Linked DNA regions of Homo sapiens: region 1 is linked to region 2. Evidence: promoter capture Hi-C in 16 types of primary human blood cells and fetal thymus (Javierre and others, 2016). All regions are on one chromosome and are shown on one strand. The core of a region is centred on a gene start or on the middle of the fragment in contact, and the rest is flanking DNA. Distances in the headings are between cores, read along the strand shown. Region 1 holds the start of CYBB (cytochrome b-245 beta chain). Region 2 holds the start of LANCL3 (LanC like family member 3).

Region 1 (6,862 bases), core at 2,291-4,790, 210 kb after region 2:
ATAAGTACAGATATGAGTAACTTTTTTGTTTCAGTCAAAAAACAGAAACCACTGTATTTCAACAGGGGGAATTTCATACCAGGAAATTTGTTACATGGATTATGGAAAAGTAGAGAATCCCAACATGGGGTGCAGAGGCAACATAATATAAAGATGAACAACTACAGGAAGTGGTTACCACCCTAGGGGTTAGAGGGAAACTAGGAGGTGGTGGTGTAACTTGAGTTCAGAAGCCAGGGCCACCTGGCAGAATCTTGAGCTACAGTGGTGATGGCTAGGACTAGCTCATGCCACAGGGGGAGAGGCTGACTGGTGAAAGTTGGAGCCTCAGTGCAGATGCAGCCCCTTCATGGATGCCACTTAAAGCAGAAAGCTCAGGGAAGAAACACTATGGCTTATCTCCTGCTATCCATTCTCCAATTCAGCTAAACATACTAGAAGCCAGAGGGCCAAGGAGCCTGGCAATACAATTTTCTCTGAAACACAGTAGAGCAAGGAAAGTGGGGAATAGACCTGAGAGCAAGAGGCAAATAATTGGCACATGTTTTAATTGTCTAAGTGTGTTTCTTTGAATTCATCTCTGTGTGGAACAGAACCACGAGACTAACTTCTCTTTATGTGGTTTACACATGGTCTAAGAGCCATAGCATTCTAAAAAGTACCTTTCCTTGAATATTAAGAAGTGAAAAACACTACTACTTTGCTAATTATCGTAATTACAGAAGCTTCCCAAGTAGTTCATGGACAACAATCAAAAGAGTACTTATGTCTTTTTTTTCCTTCTTTTGTTCCCTTTCACTCCTCCCATTTCTTTTTTTTTTACCTCCATATTAGCTATAACTGCTGTACAACTACCCTTGTGCAATTAGTCAATATTGATCTCATAATGGGGTTACTATCCTACCTTCCTGTCTCTTTCATGTCTTGAAGAGTGGGTACCAACAAGGGAAATGATGCTACATTTAGCTTTTGGCATCTACCATATCTGACATATCTTTGTGCTGACCCTGTTTACTCACTTAGCATATAGGATGTCATGTTTGCCTGGAAACATGATTGCCATCTAAACATTTTGGTATATTTCTTGTATTTTGTCATGTTTTCCTATAGTTGTATGTGGAGTGATTTAATGTAGGGTTTTTAGTGTAGGCATAGTAAGGCTTTTTTCTAGTATCTTGGTCAAAAGTATAACCAAATTTCTTGGGTTTTAAATCCCAACTCTACTATTTGCTAGTTATGTGAACTTGGCCAAGTAACTGAACTGCTCTGGAACTCAGTTTCCTTATCTGTAAATATAATCATAATAATAGAATCTGCTTTACAGTGGTTGAGTTGTGAGGATCAAATGAATTGATGTGTGTGTGTTTGCATGTGTGTCTATATGTGTAATACACACATATATGCAGTCATATCACTTAACTATGGGGGATTTGTTCTGAGAAATGTATCCTTAGGTGATTTTGTTGTTGTGTGAAAATCATAGAGTGTATTTACATAAACCTGATGGTATAGTCTACTACACGCCTAGGCTACATGGTATAGCCTATGGCTGCTAGGCTACAAACCTTATCGTTTTTTATTGTACTGAATACTGTCAGAGATTCTAACACAATGGTATCTAACCATAGTTAACCATAGAAAATAGACAATAAAAATAAAGTATAAAAGATTAAAAATGGTACACCTGTATAAGGCACTTACCATGAGTAGAGCTTGGAGAACTAGAAGTTACTCTATGTGTCAGTGAGTGAGTGGTGAATGGATAGGAAGGCCTAGAACATTTTTGTACACTCCTATAGATTTTATGAACACTGTACACTTAGGCTATACTAAATATGCAAAACATTTTGTTTTTTCAATAATGAAATAAATTTAGCTTACTGTAACTTTTTATTTATAAACTTTTGCTTTTTTAATTTCTTGACTCTTTTGTAATAACCCTAAGCTTAAAACAAAAAAAATTTTACAGCTGTACAAAAATGTTTTAATATCCATATCTAGAAGCTTTATTCTGTTTTTAAATTTTTTATTTTTATATTTTACCTTTAAAACATTTTTGTTAAAAGCTAAGACACAAACATACACATTAGCCTAGGCCCACACAAAGTCAGGATCATTAATATCACTGTCTTCCACCTCCACATTTTGCCCCACTGGACAGTCTTCAAGGGCACTAACATGCATGAAGCTGTCATCTATGACAGCAATGCATTCTTCTGGAATACCTTCTGAAGGACCTGCCTGAGATTCTTTTACAGTTAACTTTTTTATAAGTAGGAGTATACTCTAAAATAATGATTAAAAGTATAGTCTAGTAAATAAATGAACCAGTAACATAGTCATCTATTTTTACTATCAAGTACTATGTAATGTACATAATTGTATGTGCTATACTTTTACAACTGGCAGCTCAGTAGGTTTGTTTACACCAGCATTGCCACAAACACATGAGTAATGTGTTATGCTACAATGTCACTAGATGGTAGGAATTTTTCAGCACACACACACAAGTATATATATTATATATTATATTATATATTATATATATATGTATATATATATATATATATATAGAGAGAGAGAGAGAGAGAGAGAGAGAGAGAGATGGAGTCTTGCTCTGTCGCCCAGGCTGGGGTGCAATGACACAATCTCGGCTCACTGCAACCTGACTCCCAGGTTCAAGTGATTCTCCTGCCTCAGCCTCCTGAGTAGCTGGGACTACAGGTGCCCACCACCATGCCCAGCTAATTTTTGTATTTTTAGTAGAGACGGGGTTTCACCATGTTGGCCAGATTGGTCCCAAACTCCTGACCTCAAGTGATCCACCCCACTCAGCCTCTCAAAGTGCTGGGATTACAGGCGTGAGCCACCGTGCCTGGCCAACACCATTATAATCTTATGGGACCACTGTCATACATGTGGTTCATCATTGGCCAAAGCATCTGTATTTATATATGTATGTTTCAAATTATATATATATATATATATATATATATATATATATATATGATAGCTATACATGAACATACACACACACATATATAGACATATATAGCACATAAAATTGGCACATATTAAGCATTTTGTAAATATCAACCATTACAATTGTTACTACTTTTCTCAGCAAGGCTATGAATGCTGTTCCAGCCTGTCAAAATCACACCTGTTTAATGTGTTTTACCCAGCACGAAGTCATGTCTAGTTGAGTGGCTTAAAAATTGTGATCAAATAGCTGGTTAGTTAAAAAGTTATTTCACTGTGTAAAATACATCCCTTAAAATGCACTGTTATTTATCTCTTAGTTGTAGAAATTGGTTTCATTTTCCACTATGTTTAATTGTGACTGGATCATTATAGACCCTTTTTTTGTAGTTGTTGAGGTTTAAAGATTTAAGTTTGTTATGGATGCAAGCTTTTCAGTTGACCAATGATTATTAGCCAATTTCTGATAAAAGAAAAGGAAACCGATTGCCCCAGGGCTGCTGTTTTCATTTCCTCATTGGAAGAAGAAGCATAGTATAGAAGAAAGGCAAACACAACACATTCAACCTCTGCCACCATGGGGAACTGGGCTGTGAATGAGGGGCTCTCCATTTTTGTCATTGTAAGTACCAACAAGAGATAAGTTATAAATTCTCTGACTTCTCGGGGTTATCTTGGAACTAAAATAGACCAAAGCTTTTTTGTTCATTTGAGGAATTGTGTTGAAACTGATTTACCATGTGAACCTATATCTATCTGTAAACAGACTGAGTCCATTCTTCCAAATTCCTTAATGGAAAGAACATATCTGGGGGCTCACTTCTAGCTTACTTCTGAATTCCTAGGAGGAATAAATTAGCCAGCATTTCGCAGAAGGAGTAGAAAATATTTCATGCTAATGATCTCTGATTCTGAGTTGTTTAGTAATGTTTACTCAGACGCACATGTCTATGTGTTTATACTACTTTAAAAATGACAAATTGAAATTTTATACCATTTTCTAAATAAAAAATATAAGATTGACTCATGTATGGGAAGTAGGCCTTTATTTCAGTAATTACACTAAATATAATAAAACTTCTCAAATTTATTTTCAAAAACAAGTACCTTCTTTTTTCAGAGATCTAAACTTGAGTTATTTATAAGATTTATAAAAATTCAAAAGAACAGAATTGAAATAAGTCATCTAGATTCATAAATATGTAGTATGTATATTTATATATAATTGTATATATATATAAATCAATATAGTCTGGAGAAACTATGTAAGTAAAGATATAGCTAATTTACAAGTGGACAGAATGATTTCTGTACTTTTTAAAACAAAGAAAATCAACTGTTCTCTTAAAATGGTGTTATCAGCAAAGCAATAATGGACAAATTGGGTAGATAGAAATACGATTTTTAAATAGCCTTTCTAAATAACCAATAGAAGCATTACACAGATGTTAAAAAGTACAATTATGAATGGAATATGAATGGAGCTTTTGTAAAAATTTATCATGAAAAATAATGAGTCTTTGAGTTTTAAATATAGAAAGCAATTAGTGGCACAAATAAAAACAACAAATATTTTGTTATAAAAAATGTTTACGCCAAACCAACATTCTACTGCAACAGAGAATTCTTCCGAGTATTCGAAGCTGTAAACTTAACTTCTTATCACCATTTTTAAGGGCAAATAATTTCTATAGAAAGTAAGTTCAAATTAAACTTTTAGCTCTCGCCACAATTTTTCCCAGGAAATGACCTCCTTCTAAATTATATACTCATGCACTTGAAAGTGAAAACACAGCTTGGAAAGTCAGAGTAAAGAAAGAATGACAAGATCAGGAAATTGGGAAGTTGCTTTAGCACTTTTTTCTTTGTAAAGAGAGAATATTATCAAGTGTCTAGAGCATATAATAGCTTCAAAGCATAGTTGAGAAAAGATCACTATGGAGCTGAAGGTAGAGAACTGGGTAGTGTGACCACTTGATCCAGTCAGTGCTTAGGATAAAATGAACTGTCATGATCTAGAAAGCTGTTTTTGTTGTAAATCCCAAGCCCCTCACTATGCTCAATATTCTCTCCTTGAAGCATTAAGTAAAACTAATCAAGGAAAATGGAAGGCTTGGCATTTTAGCTGATGAGAATTCACTAGCTGGATTACTGTGTGGTAGAGGGAGGTGATTAGCACCTGTGAGAACAGAACGCAGTGTCATACTGGTGGAGGGAAAGCAATAGTAATATGTTCCCTTCCTTTCTCATTTTAAGTGGAGTGGCCTGCTATCAGCTACCTATCCAAGGTTAAGCAAAAGAGAGGGGAAAAAAAGGGAGTGGGGTAATGTAAGACTGATAATTTGGTATACTGGCCAAATCATAAAACAATCATGGGGAACAACACAGGGTGGAGAGGTTTTAATTATAGACAAGTGTAGTGACACTGTTGAGGAAAGAGCTGGCTCTAAGCTGGTTATATCCAGCTTTGTCACTACCTTTGTCAAAGTTGGACTTGGGGAAGTCCTGACCCTTATCTGACTCCAGTCTTGTGTGGAATCTACTGTGGAAATGCGGAAACTTCATGCAATTATTTCTGTTTGTGCAGCTGGTTTGGCTGGGGTTGAACGTCTTCCTCTTTGTCTGGTATTACCGGGTTTATGATATTCCACCTAAGTTCTTTTACACAAGAAAACTTCTTGGGGTAAGTATAAATTCCATCCCATGCAATATTGGCTGGTTCACATTTCTCATCAGACATTCTTGTTCATCTTCCTGTTAGCATTTTAAATACATATTCTGACCAACCCAAACAGTACCATTAGCCTCACTCCCTCCATTGCAACTTCCTGGGCAACAGTCACTTAAAGCCTTCCAGTCTGGGACCAACAAAAGTGGGGCAGAGGGCCCCAGTGGCATCCTTCCCCAACCAAGAACCATGTGCCATTGTTTAGCTTAAAGGAGAAATCTAATACTCACTCTGAAATGGAAGGGCAGGTTGGAGCAATCCATCCAGGAGTGACACATGTGGGACAAGTGGGACTTTCCATATTTTCTAAGTCACCTAATTCCTAGTACTTTTTTGCATGAAGAGCTCTGCTCCTAATCACATGTTATGAAATGATCTTCAGAAAATAAATCTCTCTCTACATATAAAGACTCGAGGAACTTGCTCAAGGGCCACATCTGTTGACTAGGACAGTAGAGTGAAGGCCCTTCAGTTTCCTTGGGTCCTTTAGTATTCTGAGTTTCCTTGAACTGTCAGGCCTCTTGCCTCCAGAAGACATCTGTTACATCATGCTGAAACTATGAATTAATTGCTTAATATTAATTATTATAAGTATTATAAATCATAAATAAATAATTTTAGCATATAATTATGCTAGATCATTATAATTGTTGTTAGCTTATTCACATTGATGCTTTCTCCCGCCAAAATATGCAACTTCTTTAGACATTACAAATATAATAATTATAATGCCAAAGCATTATACCATACCAATTTAAGATACTGTTAAGATCAATTTAAGTGCTAAGAAAATATTTAAAATCTTTAAAAGTCTTGATACTTAACTCTAGTTAATGATATGCACCTTAAGTGTTAAAGAGAAAGTGAACTGTTGTCTGTAACTTACTTTGAAATGCATCAAAAATTAGATGAGTTGATGGATGGATACAGGAATGGATAGATAGAATGTGATAAAGCAAGCATAAAAGGTATAATCTGGGAGATGAATAAACAGGTATTTATTGTAAATTTCCTTCAACTTGTCTTTATGTTTGAACATTTTAATAATAAAATGTTGAATTAGGGCAAAAGGTCAATTTCAGATGAAAACAAAGGGTCCTAGCTAGCCCTAAAGGAAAACCGTTGGCTCTGAAGGACCTTCCTGTACAGATC
Region 2 (6,704 bases), core at 3,669-6,168:
CTTATTTCAGGTGGCTTTTAATTCTGGGATTACATGTGTACTGGCGATCATGATTAGCCTATAATGGCTAACAAAGTGCCCTAAATTGATAAAATGGGAAGTAGAGGGAAAAAAAGACAATAAAGAGAATCAAATCCTATGTTAGAATGCACACTTCTGTGGCTGCTTTTGGCAGAGGTGTATAATCAAGCAACTGGTCAGGAAATTATTCTAGTGGAGTAATGATATTACAATAAATAACGCTGCATCCAAATTAAGTATAGGACAATTAGAGGTGGGGCTTCAAAGAACCCTAATACTTCACCCTACCCTGTATCCATACCCTTTGTCATGCAACTTTGACATTCAACAAAAACACCTTATATTTCCTCATGTGATTTGCCAATAGACTAAGGCAGAAAAGAGTGTGTGGTCCTGAGACTAGACCCTCAGAAGTCTTGCATGTCTCTGCTTTTGCTTTAGCCCCTCTGCCATTGCCATGCAAGTATGCTGGGGTTGGCCAGCTAAAAGACAGCAAAACCCAGCCATGGATGGAAAGAAAATTTTGACATTATGAAGAGCATCACAGACATCAATAAATATCTATTGAGCACATACAATGTGTCAGGCATTGATCTAGATGCCAAGCATACAAGAGGAAACAACACAGACAAAATTTCCTGTTATTATGGGGGTTAAATTTTAGTGGAGAGAGATAGATGGGAAACAAAACAAATAGGTAAAATATGTAGTCATTAGATACTAATGGTTGGTGGAGGGGTAGTAACTTTAAACTAATAAGTTGGAGAAAGTCTCATTGAAAGAGAGGTGAAGAGGCAAGCCATGAGGTAATTTTTTGAAGAGTATTCAAAGGACAGAAAACTGCAAAGGAAAGAGGAGAATTAGGGAAAAGTTTCCAATTATGTTGTTAATCTAATAAAATAGGGATGAGTCACCACAGAGGATATGCTATAAGGAATGAAGAAAGCACTATTCAGTTATCTCAAGCATTTCTAGGATGCACCCTTTGAACAAAATTTTGGAAAACTTTTTGAAAGCATTTCTAGGATGCATTATCCCATAAAATGTATTAAATCTTAATTGGTAAGGTTTGACAGTTATACAATTACTGATTTTTTTTCATATTCACCCATAGAGAGCAATAATTTGCATAAGAGAAACCCTGATTTTAATACTCTCTTTTCTGGATAGTTTTGCATAATTTTTATGCGATTTCCTTGATGAACCCAATAATACTCTCTTCCATCCATAGTTTTGCATAATCTGCATAATAAGGACGTACTGAAGAAGAACTAGGAACTGAGCAATTCAGCAAGATCACAGAAACATGTGTTGGGAGCTGCCTGTCAGCAAATGCTGCTAGAAATTCTGTGACTATCAGGACAAATCTTGCAGATAATGGTAAAATAAATGGCCTTGGCAAGATTTTGTATAGACTGCATATTTCTTGTGGGGTCATCACTACTTTTAAAGAATCCAACTGGAATTGTTATTTCAGAACACAACGTTTTGGGTGCCTGCATACTTCTCTGTCTTCCAGACTTCTCTAAAATATTTATCTTCCTAACTGCTCATTGCCCTGTTGAGTGTAGACTATTGATTAGAGGGGACTTCCAGAGCATTGGATTATGGGAAGCTAGCAGGACATTCCAGTTACCTTGCTCCATAACACATTATCCTAAAACTTCGAGGCTTATAACAACTATATTTTTGTTTGTAATTTTTTGGGTCAGGAATTCTGGAAGGGTCTGGGATGATGGTAATCTGAAGGCTTGACTGGGGTGGATATTTCCAAAGTGGTTCACTCACATAGCTGTCAGTTGATGCTGTCCTCGGGCTGTCAATCCAAGCACTTCCAGGTGACCTCTTCATGTTGTCTGGGCTTCCTCTCGATAAGGCAGCTTCAGGGTAGTCAGATTCTTACAAGGCAGCCCAAGGCTCCAAATGTGAGTGCTGCAACATTTAAGATGGAAGCTGCATTACTTTTTATAATTAAGCCTTGGATGCCATACGGTGTTATTTCCATCACATTCTATTGGTTACAAATGAGATATAAGCCCACCCAGAATTCAGAAGAGGTTGCATGTACCTCCCTCCTGATGAGAGGAATGTCAAGGTCACATTGATTGCAGAGGAACATGTGGCATAGGAGATATTGTTGTGGCCATATTTGAAAAATATAAGCTGCCACACAGGGTTAATTAGCAAAAGTAGAATGTGTGAAGACCCCGAATTCAAGGTAAAGTATAGAGGTCACCATATCTTGTAGAGAAACAGACAAGAGCAAAAACTGCAGAATGTTTACATTCTTGTGCTCACAAGAGGAAAAGGGTCCAAGAATATAGGAGGAGTTTAGACATGTCAGGCTAAGGTTTCAAAAAAGGCCTCACTCTGTGTTCTATACTTTAGGGTACCTTAAGTCTCTCATGGCACTCTCATGGTAATTCATTCATTATTTCATAAACTTTCAGTAAATATCTACTACAGGGAGTAGTGGTAGTAGTAGCAATAGCAGTAGCAGTAGTAGTGGTAGAATAGAGACTATTCTAGGATCTTGCATATCAGTAAATAAATGCAAGAAAAAGCCCTACCCTCATGGAGAGTATATTCTAGTGGAGTAGTGATATTAAAATAAATAACACTGCATGCAAATTAAGTATAGGACAATTAGAGGTGGGGTTTCAAAGAACCCTAACGCTTCACCCTACCCTGTATCCATACCCTTTGTCATGCAAATTTGAAGTTCAACAAAAACACCTTATATTTCCTCATGTGATTTGCCAATAGACTAAGGCAGAAAAGAGTGTGTGCTCCTGAGACTAGACCCTCAGAAGTCTTGCATGTCTCTGCTTTTGCTTTAGCCCCTCTGCCATTGCCGTGCAAGCATGCTGGGGTTGGCCAGCTAAAAGAGAAGAGACATATGGGCCAGAGGCCAGTCACCTCAGTCTCCCCAAGCAAGACCCAACCCACCTCCAGACACCTGAATGAGCCCAGCCAAGATCCTAGATGCATAAACATTAAATTTACTGCCATATGCTATTAGATTTTGTGATTGCTTTTCATACAGCATTTTGGGGCAATAGACAGATGACACAACTGGGAAAAAGTGGAAGAGCTCGTTTTCTTGGAGACGTGTTTACACACAGTTCTATTTTGAAGCCAGTTAGCAGATCCCTGTTGTTGTTGCTGGCGCTACCTCTAGGCTGGAGTGTTTCGAAGAATAATCAGAGTCAGAATTAATAGAGTTGCCTCTAGATTCATGACAAGGGTGAGTGAGGTGTGGAGGAATGAAGTGGAATAAGGCTTCATTTCTGCTGGTAAAGGCTTTATTTTATGTTTCCTTGTCTGAGGGGACAAAAATCACCTCTAATGTCTGTTATGGTTGAGGGATGAGGAAGGAAGTCTCAAGGAGAAACTCAACATTCCTGTTGCTTCTTTGATGCCTTTTCCTCCTTTAACATATCAAGCTCCCTGCCTAAAAGTGGACTTTTATCATTATTATTATTATTAAAAATAAACCTGTTTTGGCAGCATCAAAGGGGGACGATGGCCATACTGTCCTTGAACTATGTGGATGTGTCAGTCCTGGCAATCATGTTGGCAAACTAAGGTTCTTTCCCAGACTACATCAAGTAAGGGTGGAGGGGCAGGGTATTTAATATCTGCTTCCCAATCATGGTGACATTTAACACTTCTGAGGAAAAAAAAATGCCTCCAAACTGGCCTTTCAAGTAAGTGGAGTAGTTACTCTCCCCACAAAGTATCAGAAACTGTTCTATGAGCCACTTACTCCTTTATGTCTTGCACAGTCCCTATCAAAAGTCAAATACTCCTGGGAGACGTGACCTCTTTAGTCTTCAAGAGTCAACACTTTGGGAAAGGCAGAATTATTTCAAACAGCTGAGCACAAGAAAGGCAACTAGCTTGTGTAATTGTTCATTTTCTGTTTTTTCCTACTGAATTGTAAGCTACAAGGGGTCTAGGACCATGTCTATCTTATTCATCCCTCTATTTCCAGGTTTCAGGACACATAGGAGACCCTCCACAACGCCCTTGGGAAAAAAGCAGAAGAGGACAAACATGGGAAAAGAAGGGAGGGAAGGGGGAGATAAAAAGCCTAATTAAATTCTCACAGAGCGTTTATCCTAATATTAACTAGTTAATGACCTCAAGATATGTATTGAGCTTTTACTATGCACGCATGGCAGGAGGGGCGTGCCCCTTCCTTGCCTTAACCTGGTGTGGTTCTTTGACTTTTTACTCCTGTATACTCGAAGAAAACAATACAAAAATCAAAGCTGGGAAAAAAGTTCCTGTATGGGGTATTTCACCGTTTTAATGCATTAAACATGATGTGCTCAAATGCCCCAGCCTTTGGGATTGAAACATTCATAATGAGAACTCCGAAGCGACCAAGATGAAATACAAACTTCAAAGAAGGCGCCCAGTTTTGTCTTGCTACTCTAGCCTAGTTCAGTGGCGCCTCAAACTTTAATGTGCATGCGAATCACCTGGCAATCTTGCTGAATATTCAGATTTGGAGTCAATAGGTCTGGAGTGAAGCCTGAGATGCTGCGTTTTTAACATGCCCCCGGGTGATGCTGATGCTTCTAACCCAAGGACCACACTTTGAGTATACAAGGGACTGGAGACCATCACCTCTACCGCCAGGTGTGTGTATGCTGAGTCCCAGCGTTCCAGATCAGTGTCCCGCACGTCCTCGGCCTTCTGCCAGTAGGGGAGGAGTCGGGGGCGGAGCGGGAGGAGTGGCGCGGGCCCCGCGTGGGTCCTGCCAGAGATCACCTCGGCCCCTTGAAGAGGCAGCCAAGCTGCGGCGGCGCAGGAGGGGGCGGGTTCAGCGAGGGCGCGGCCTCTGAGGGGGGGCGCAGGACACGCATCCCCCGCGATCGCCCGGGCCACTCGGGAGCCTCGCGGCAGCCCGGCGCCCCACTTGGCCATCCGCTCCTTGCCCGCCTCCTCTTGTCACCTCCCGTCTCATCCTTCTCGCTCCTTCCCCGCCGCATACACCGGCATCCGAGTGCCTCAGAGAGCCGGAGGTGGTGTGCGGGGCTGCAGGGCACGACTTCAAGCGGTCCTCAGCTCCGCACTAGGGGGCACGGGCAACAGCATGGACACCAAGCGCTGCTTCGCCAATCGCTTCGATGACTACCAGGGCAGCCTGCTGGCGGGCCAGTGTGAGGAGGCGGTGGCGCCCTTGGTCACCGCCACCATCGAGCGCATCCTCCAGGAGCTTCCCCCACTCGGGGGCGGCGCGGAGGCCCGAGGGGCGACGGCGGGGGCTAGCGCCTGCCAGGGGGGGCTTTATGGCGGCGTGGCCGGAGTGGCGTATATGCTCTACCACGTCTCGCAGAGCCCGCTTTTCGCCACGGCCCGGGAACGCTACCTGCGCTCGGCTAAGCGCCTCATCGACGCGTGCGCCCGCGCTGAGGAGTGGGGCGAACCGGACGCCGACACCCGCGCCGCCTTCCTGCTCGGGGGCGCGGGCGTGTACGCCGTGGCCACGCTCGTATACCACGCCCTGGGCCGGTCCGACTACGTGCAGCCGCTGGGCAAGTTCCGGGCTCTGTGTGCCGTCTGCGCGCCGGTCTCCTTCCTGGAGTGCGGCTCCGACGAGCTGTTCGTGGGCCGCGCGGGTTACCTGTGTGCCGCGCTGGTGCTCAAGCAGAAACTCGCCCAGGAGGTAAGAGGTAGCCCGGGCCGCGGGAGGGCGCTCGCCGCCTGCCCGGCCTCCTTTCCCCGGACTCCGTGGCTCGGGCAGCACTGTCCCGAGTTGCTCTCCAAGTCTTTGTTACTCTTGGTGTGGTGCTAGCATTTCTTCAGTCCCTTGAGGTCTATCTCCTGCTTTTGTCCCTCTTCTTTCCTGTCGTTTTCAGTCTCTCATTTGTTGAGATTCGGCGTCTCTGCGCTTTGTTCGTGTTTTTACGTGGCATCACTCCAGATGCCTGTTAGCTTTCTGGGGGATGACAGTGTGGCCCTTTCAAGTAAGATGAAAACCTCAGAAATGGAAGGGATTTCCTTTCCTTTGACTCTGCTGTCAAAAGCTGAGGCATCCTCGAATGTTAGAGTGCTAGAAAGTAATGGAACTTTTCGGGGCCGATGTGGAGGTAAGTTGCTTCTGGAGCCCTGGGTCTGTAACCAAGAATAACTGCTCAGCTGTGGGTCTGATGTGTTTACTGTTTTGCTTACTATTCAGTTCAACCCATGGCTCTTATTAAATGCATATCTGATAGGAGTGTCCCCTTTAAAAATACATAAATGTAGACGGAAACGTACCCGGAAATGTACCCCATTGTGGTTGAATGTGCATTATTTCACTTAAAAATATTTGCTTAGGATGGGCAAGACCACAGCTTTCTTGACAGGGCAGCTTTTCTTGATGAATAACTTTACAGTGGCTCCTAAAAGTGAATTGGTTTTCACATACATATTTTTTCCTGGACTCACTTTGAAATCAGCATGTGGTTATTAGAAGAGAATATGCCAGTTCCTGTGGAGTAGGAAAAAGAACAAAACTCTGAAGGATCATAGTGACTAGAACGGAGAGAGAGGCACTTTCATTCATAATCCCCTGGAGCCAACTACTGTTCTAGGGAGGAAGTGACACATTTAACTTGGCTTTATTTAGGTGAGAAAGGCGTTTGAAGAAAAATTAAAGGTATATAGAGTGTTTTAAAAGAGTAATT

What was found. The method cuts DNA at HindIII sites, captures the fragments that hold promoters and counts their contacts. A CHiCAGO score of 5 or more calls a contact.
Region 1: the fragment with the promoter of CYBB here is called in contact with the fragment with the promoter of LANCL3 in region 2 in 6 of 17 cell types (megakaryocytes, erythroblasts, fetal thymus and 3 more); the score reaches 10.6 in megakaryocytes.

Annotation. Positions count from the first base shown.
Region 1 is chrX:37,776,519-37,783,380 of GRCh38, forward strand. It overlaps CYBB (cytochrome b-245 beta chain), which reads left to right and starts at 3,541. Exons shown (of 13, transcript NM_000397.4): 1 at 3,541-3,604; 2 at 5,570-5,665. The coding sequence starts at 3,560. RefSeq lists an enhancer at 3,583-3,632. The HindIII fragment of the contact is 266 bases long and covers 3,411-3,676 here.
Region 2 is chrX:37,566,743-37,573,446 of GRCh38, forward strand. It overlaps LANCL3 (LanC like family member 3), which reads left to right and starts at 4,919. Exons shown (of 5, transcript NM_001170331.2): 1 at 4,919-5,701. The coding sequence starts at 5,129. The HindIII fragment of the contact is 8,836 bases long and covers 1-6,704 here.